2 separate regions of the Homo sapiens genome follow, and region 1 is linked to region 2. The links are contacts of gene promoters, found by promoter capture Hi-C in blood cells and fetal thymus (Javierre and others, 2016). All regions are on one chromosome and are shown on one strand. The core of a region is centred on a gene start or on the middle of the fragment in contact, and the rest is flanking DNA. Distances in the headings are between cores, read along the strand shown. Region 1 overlaps CISD1 (CDGSH iron sulfur domain 1). Region 2 holds the start of UBE2D1 (ubiquitin conjugating enzyme E2 D1).

Region 1 (3,440 bases), core at 729-3,228, 51 kb before region 2:
TTAGTAGAGACAGGGTTTCACCATGTTGGCCAGGCTGATCTTGAACTCCTGACCTCAAGTGATCCACCCGCCTTGGCCTCCCAGAGTGCTGGGATTGCAGGTGTCATCCACTGTGTCCGGCCCAGAAATTGGTTTATTTTATAGTACAGGCTTCCCTCGGTGTCCATGGATTGGTTCCAGGACCTCCCATGGATACCAAAATCTGAGAATGCTCAAGCCCCTGATTTAAAATGACAGTATTTGCCTATAAGCTATGCACATAATCCTGTATACTTTAAATTATTACGTCATCTCTTGATTGCAAATAATACCTAATACAGTGTGAATGCTATGTAAATAGTTGTTATACTGTATTGTTTAGAGAATAATGACAAGGAAAAAAGTGTACATGCTCAGTACCCATACAATTATTTTAGCGAGTATTTTCTATCAGCAGTTGGTTGCATCCATGGATGTGGAACCCACAGATACAGATGGGGCCAATTGTATTTCACAAAAGGGCTATCCATATTTGAAGTGAGAATGAAAGGAGCCAGTATAGAGGAAATGATTAAAGTGACTACAGGGAAAGATACTATTTGAGTCAGCGGTATCTTGACAAAGGGTGGAAGGAAATGAGAGTAACAGCACAGATGTGAAACTCAGCCTTAAAAAGGAAGAGATAGTCTTACTTTCGAAACAAGAAGATGAAAGGACTCTGATGTAAGAGGGAAGGGTATGGGATGTAGTATTGCTAGGTTCCTTTCCCTGCAACTTCAGGTTGGTTACATCACTTGCTGAGTTGTATGACGGCCACCTAGGAGGCAGTTCAAACAAGGACAGCAAAAGAATACAGACTAAGAAGAAAGAGAGGAAAGTCTTACCAGTTAACATCAGGAGCTGAACTGAAATTGAAATGAAATGCAACTGGACATGTTTAGACTCATTTTCTTTCATTTACAGGGTAAGATTTGAGTTAATGATACTTTTGTTTTGTCGTTGGTAGTAGGCTTGATCCTGGGTGTTTTTTTTTGGCGGGAGGGTGTTGGGGGAAAAAGAGAAATCCTCCATCCTGTTAATGGCTTAGAAGTGCATTTTACTGAGTCTTTCTTCATAAAAACGATATTCTGAATGTTGGTGACATTCCTTGGCCAATCCACATAAAGACAGTCTTATAAAAATCTTAATTTATCTTTGTACATTTTCATATTATAGCTACTGTCTTAGGTTTATTGAAATAGGTACATAAGAATGGTATAAAATGTCATAATCTCTAGGTTAGTCTCAAAAATCTCATTACTTCGTTTTCGTTCTCAACCAAAGCAAGCATATTTTTCTGGACAGTTTATGGTAATGAGCCAAAATGGTGCCAGGCAACTTCCTTGGGACAGAAAATCAAAACTCTAATACAAAGTACGAAGTTCAGAGAAGGAAGATAGTCTTTAAAAGAAAATTGTTTCAGGTGGAAGAGATAAGTCAAAGAGGAGCATTTATTAAAACAGAGGCATAACTTGAGATGTGGGGCCATTAAAAAGAAATGTTGTGTTTTTATGAAGATCCATATAGCATTGCTAGCTTTCCAGGTGGAGAGCAAGGACCTCCACTGTTTTTTCTACTAAAGCTTTATTCCAACTTCTTCTAACCCTTTCTTCCCCCACTTTTAAAGATATTTGGGATTTGTAGTGTTCAAATTGGGTTAACAAACATAAAAGGATGTTTTCTGGACATAAAGGAAATTTGATTTACAGACTTTTTCCAGGATTTGTTAATAAACAAACGCTGACATCTTAGAATAAATTAAGTATCAATACTACACGAACTGAATTTAATATTCTTTGTGTTTTTTTCATAATTTAAAACAATTTAACAAATTTCAAAATGTTTAATGAAAAAGTTAATAAAATTCTCATATTTTTGTACATTATTTAATGTAAAAATTACTGTACTTCCTACATTGTATTTGAAAGTATATAATGCCAGACACAGTCGCTTAGGCCTGTAATTCCAACACTTTGAGAATGTAACAGCCAATGTAGTGAAACCTTGTCTCCACAAAAAAATGCAGAAATTAGTTGAGTGTGATGGCATGCACCTATAGTCCTAGCTACTCAGGAGGCTGAGATGGAAGGATCCCTTGAGCCTGGGAGATTGAGGCTTCAGTAAGCTGCGATTGCACCACTGTGCAATCTAATTTAATCTCTTAAAAAAAAAAAAAACTGTATACCCACCACATATTATCTTTCTCCTGCATAGATCAGAAATAAAGCAAGACACATAAGGCAGTAATTCCTAGGGTTAAGTGATATAAAAAGTACTATTAAAAAATACGTCTCTGCACAAAATTATTTTTAACACCTAGTTTGCATTATAAAGGCATAAAAGCTTTATACACTTTAATCGCATGAAAGTTTATTAACAAATAACCAGGATAAACTACTCATTGCTTTTTAAAGAAATATGTGTTTGCTTTTAAGAATATGAAGAAACAGGCTAATTTCAGTTTTTAGGCAGAATTGGGTGATGAGAAAAAATGTATTCTCACTTTTGATATATGACTTTCTTTATATTTTGTAAGATTTTCTTTGTATATTTTTTCTATAGATTTCTCTCCTATTCTGTATATGGAGGAAAATAATTTGAGAAAATGTTAGTTTCTAATATTTTCAACATAAGATTAAAAAATAAAAGTTAAACATGCCATTTCAGTAAGTTATTTAGAAATATTTCATTTTTCAGAAATGTTGCCTGCATGGATTTAATTTATAGTGAAGTGTTTTGTGTGTGCTATTTATAAAAAGAGTCTTTACAATGTAAACTTTTATGCTCACTGTAAAATCATCTGTGTTTGTTTATTAAACATATGTCACTTTGAAATGCTGTACTTTGCTGTGGGATACATTTTAGTTTAATTTTTATCGCCTCTTTCCTCATCCATGCCAAGAAAAAACTGAAAGCTTGACTTTATGTTTTTGCATCAAGGCTTGTTTCTAATATGAATATACTGTGTACCACATCTTATTGACCTCAAAAAAAGAAATAATATAAACTTTACATATATTACATTTACACTGCCCTCTACGACAGGATAGAATTTATATCTGGAAATATAAGATATGCCAATACCTTGAGTTTTTCTGTAATTTTTAGCTAATTTAGTGCCTCTTGCAATTATTTACAGATAGATTAAAATTTGATTACTTTAACATTAAGTAGCCTTTTGGATATCAAAGTTTAAGATTAAATACCATCATTGTGAAGTTTCACTGATCTGTTATGCTCCCTTCACTGCACGTAATGAGGTACTTGTTACTCATAAGGCTAAGAATCCTCTTACTTTACTCTTCTAAATAGGCTTCTTCAAAGCAACAGTGTACCTTAGACTAAACAGTGAAACTCTAGATTCTAGAGTGTAGATACATTCAAAACACCAAGATTAAGGCAAAGATGCTAGCTCTTGTCAT
Region 2 (3,435 bases), core at 318-2,817:
ACTGTGCCCAGCCCATTTAAAGCAATCTTAAAGTGTAAACTATTATTGCAAGATACCAACGTAGATTTTTTTAATAAGTGTTAATTTCTCTTTTGTTGGGAGGTAAACTGCCCTAGGAAAGACAAAAATAATCTTGTAAGCTTACTTTTTAGGTTTCTTTCTATTTATAAAGAAGAGAAAAAAATCACCATTTTTTGTGCAAATCATAGACCTTTGAGTTAGAAGGGCACCAAAAGTTTCAGCTCTATTCCCTTTAAACAAATACAACATTTATTGCATTAGTTATGGGTGAGGAAATTGAGGCTTAGAAGGATTTGAAGATTTGCTCAAGGTGGAGATTCTCAAAAGTGTCCTCAGATACCTGCATCCTAACTTCCTGGGAAGTTTGTTCTAAAGTTTAGACTCCAGAGCTTCACCCAAAACTTACTGCTAAATTAAATCCTTTAAAGGAAATCTGCATTTTTAGGATCTCCTCTTATGCCTTCCAGCATAGTGCTTCTCAAACCCTAATGTTCATCTGAATCACCTAGGAGTCTTATTAAACTGCAAAGTGTGATGTAGCATGTCTGGAGTGGGGCTCAAGATTCTGTTTTTGTTTGTTTGTTTTTGTTTTTCAACTTTTATTTTAGATTTAGAGGCCACATATGCAAGTTTGCTACCTGGGTATGCTGTGTGATGCTGACATTTGTGGTATGAATGATTTTATCACCCAGGTACTGACAATAGTACCCAACAGTTTTTCAACCTTTGCTCCCTCGGTCCCCTCTCTAGTAGTCCACAGTGTCTATTTGTTGCCATCTTTATATCCCTGAGTGATATGGTTTGGCTGTGTCCCCACCCAAATCTCATCTTGGCCAAGAAGCCAAGTTTTAATGGGTACACAAGTGCATAGGAATTGGAGAGTGGGGAGCGTGAGTTGACTATTGGTCAGGGACTGTCAACGGAAGGGAAGGAACCAATGATGGGAGTGAGAGCCCAGAACTCGGTGTTCGAAGTGGGTAATTTATGGGAGGGGCATACCTACGAGCAGACAATGCACTCAGACAAGGAAGATTTGCACATTGGACAGAAGAGACACCTTTTTCCTCTGCAATAAGAACCAAGGAGGTAAGTAGGGGGTCTGATATGAGTTTGTGCATGTGTGCAGGGTGAGTGAGACAATCCATATATTTGAGAAAAGACAGTGAAATCTTTAAAGGTAAAAATAATAAAACCAGCTGTGGCACCTATTGGATAAGGAATTACTAACTGATGATTTAGAAATTCCTTTATGTGCGTTAGGAGCTCATTTGTTATCCCCATTTTACAGATGCGCAGCCCCAGGTTCAGCAATTTGCTCTAAATGAGACTGTAGAGGCTAATTCCAGCCCCCGGCAGCTCTCACCTTAAGCTGCCTGGCTGAGGTCAGCAGTAAGTTACCTGGCAGCGTCCGGGGGCCTGCAGCCGAGGACAGGGCTGGAACTACACTTCCCAGTGTGCCAGGCGGGGCGGGGCGCGGCGGGGAGGGCGCAGGCTCCTTCCCAGAAGCAAAAGCGGAAACAAAAGAGTCTCGCCGGCGTCCCCGCCCGCACACTCGCGCACACTCGCGCTCGGGCGCACACGGAGCAGGGACCGGCGCCCGGAGCGAGCCAGGGAGCGGCTAACCGGGGACCCACCGCGCGGAGCCAGCCTAGCTGCCAGCGAGCCCAACCCGCGACGACCCACGCCCCTGAGCCCCGCAGCCGACCCCTGCCGGCCGGTGTCCCCACCGCCATCCCTGACCCATGGCGCTGAAGAGGATTCAGAAAGTGAGTGCCGGGGCCGGGCCTGGGGCTGCGGGGCAGCGGCCCCCTGCCCACGCTGACTCGGCCAGTGGTCCCGAGAGACATGCGGGGAGAGCAAGGGATGGAAGGGTGGGCCGGGGTGCGGGCAGGGAGCTGAAGGCTCGGGCCGGGCCAGCGGGCATCGGACAGGTGAGGTGGGAGCAGGGTCAGGTCCCAGGCGGCCGGAGGAGCTTGAAGGCTGGGGGCCCGCGCGCGTTCGCGCCGGAGCCGCTCCCGGAGCCCCAGGGTAGAGAGCCTCTTGCGCGTCCAGACCGTCCCGAAATCTGTGCTTCACGGTCACGGCCGGGTTTTGCCCTCCATGGGGCTAGTTTTGACCCCTGTCATGCTGTGTTTTCTCCAGGCTGTTTCTTAAGCCTGTCCTCTTTTATGTTCTTGCTTACCCGGCCTCCCCGGGAGGGCAAGGAAGGTGGGGTGGGCCTGCAGCCTTTCTCCGCGGAGCTGTCGGGTTGGTTCTTTCTCTCCTCTGCGGTTGGCTCTTGCTCAGTTGCCCGAATGGGCTGGAAAGCCCATTTGCGGCCAAGAAGTCAGGAGAAGGCTCCTGCCCCTTCTATTTTGGTGCCTCTGCTGCTGCCACTTCAGGTCACATAGCTGTAGCGAAAACATAGTTGCTGATACACAACAAGATGACCTCCTGGCTGTGATTCACGGTGAGTCAAGCCAAACAGGTTTTTTTCCCCCTCATGATAAACTTAGATGTAAAGTTCGAGACACAACATAAACTGTCGCAAATAAATTGTTTTGATGCTTTGACACATGGGTATAGAATGAGGAAGAAATATATATCTTCATCCAACAACTGTTTACCCATCTCAACCCTGTGTATGGAATCGTCTTTTTTTCACAGTATTTATTGCCACCATTTCAGATGCGAACATCCTTCAGAATTCAGATTCGGGCATTTCTTTCTGTTCATTTTTATTTCTTGTTGGTCTGTGTACTGACCCAAGTTTTAGGTTTTACAGTTACAGTTCACACTGGCAACATTGAGAATGTGTTTGTTAAATAGGGAGTGCTTTTCACTAAGTTAAGCAACAATGGACAGTGTATTTTGTAGTTGTTTCAGAAGAAATTGATGCCCACATTTTTATCCACTTTTTTGACCAGGAGTCCATTATAGCAATAGTATATGTTAGAGCAGTGATAGTGACGTACGCATTGCATTCTGACTCGCCACTGGTGACATCTTTAGGTACAGAGGACAGCAACTTTTAGAGCCTGCCAGTTTTTTATTTTCAAATTCTAAATCTGTGGATCACCTGTTATTTTTTGTGCCATTTAAAGGTCATCTCATTGTAAAACATACAGTTAACAATCAGCATCAGCATTTATTAAGTAATAATGTTTTCTTGTTTGAAGGTAGCGCAATTACACATTGTTTTATATAAATACCCTAATTTTGAAGCCTTAGCATCTTTACCATACCTTGCATACTTATTAATGACGAAGTAATATTGGTTCACATTTGGATCAGAAAATGCACATCTTCCAAGGAAGTTTTCAAATTCTATTTCCTTCTTTCCTAGTTGTGAGAATTTTTCACATGATTTTGCACATACAAGAGCTTTTTAAATTTCATTGTGTTTTTTTAAGAGATGGGGATCTCACTATATTG

Evidence for each region. Contacts are between HindIII fragments. The CHiCAGO score rates a contact against its expected background, and 5 or more counts as called.
Region 1: a fragment that was not itself captured here is called in contact with the fragment with the promoter of UBE2D1 in region 2 in 2 of 17 cell types (monocytes and activated CD4 T cells); the score reaches 6.3 in monocytes.

What each region holds. Positions count from the first base shown.
Region 1 is chr10:58,282,140-58,285,579 of GRCh38, forward strand. All of the region lies in intron 2 of CISD1 (CDGSH iron sulfur domain 1), which reads left to right. Among named protein-coding and RNA genes, the nearest start is that of CISD1, 15 kb to the left of the region's middle. The HindIII fragment of the contact is 761 bases long and covers 1,599-2,359 here.
Region 2 is chr10:58,333,439-58,336,873 of GRCh38, forward strand. It overlaps UBE2D1 (ubiquitin conjugating enzyme E2 D1), which reads left to right and starts at 1,568. Exons shown (of 7, transcript NM_003338.5): 1 at 1,568-1,787. The coding sequence starts at 1,764. RefSeq lists enhancers at 1,232-1,732, 1,331-1,625 and a silencer at 1,433-1,952. The HindIII fragment of the contact is 6,404 bases long and covers 139-3,435 here.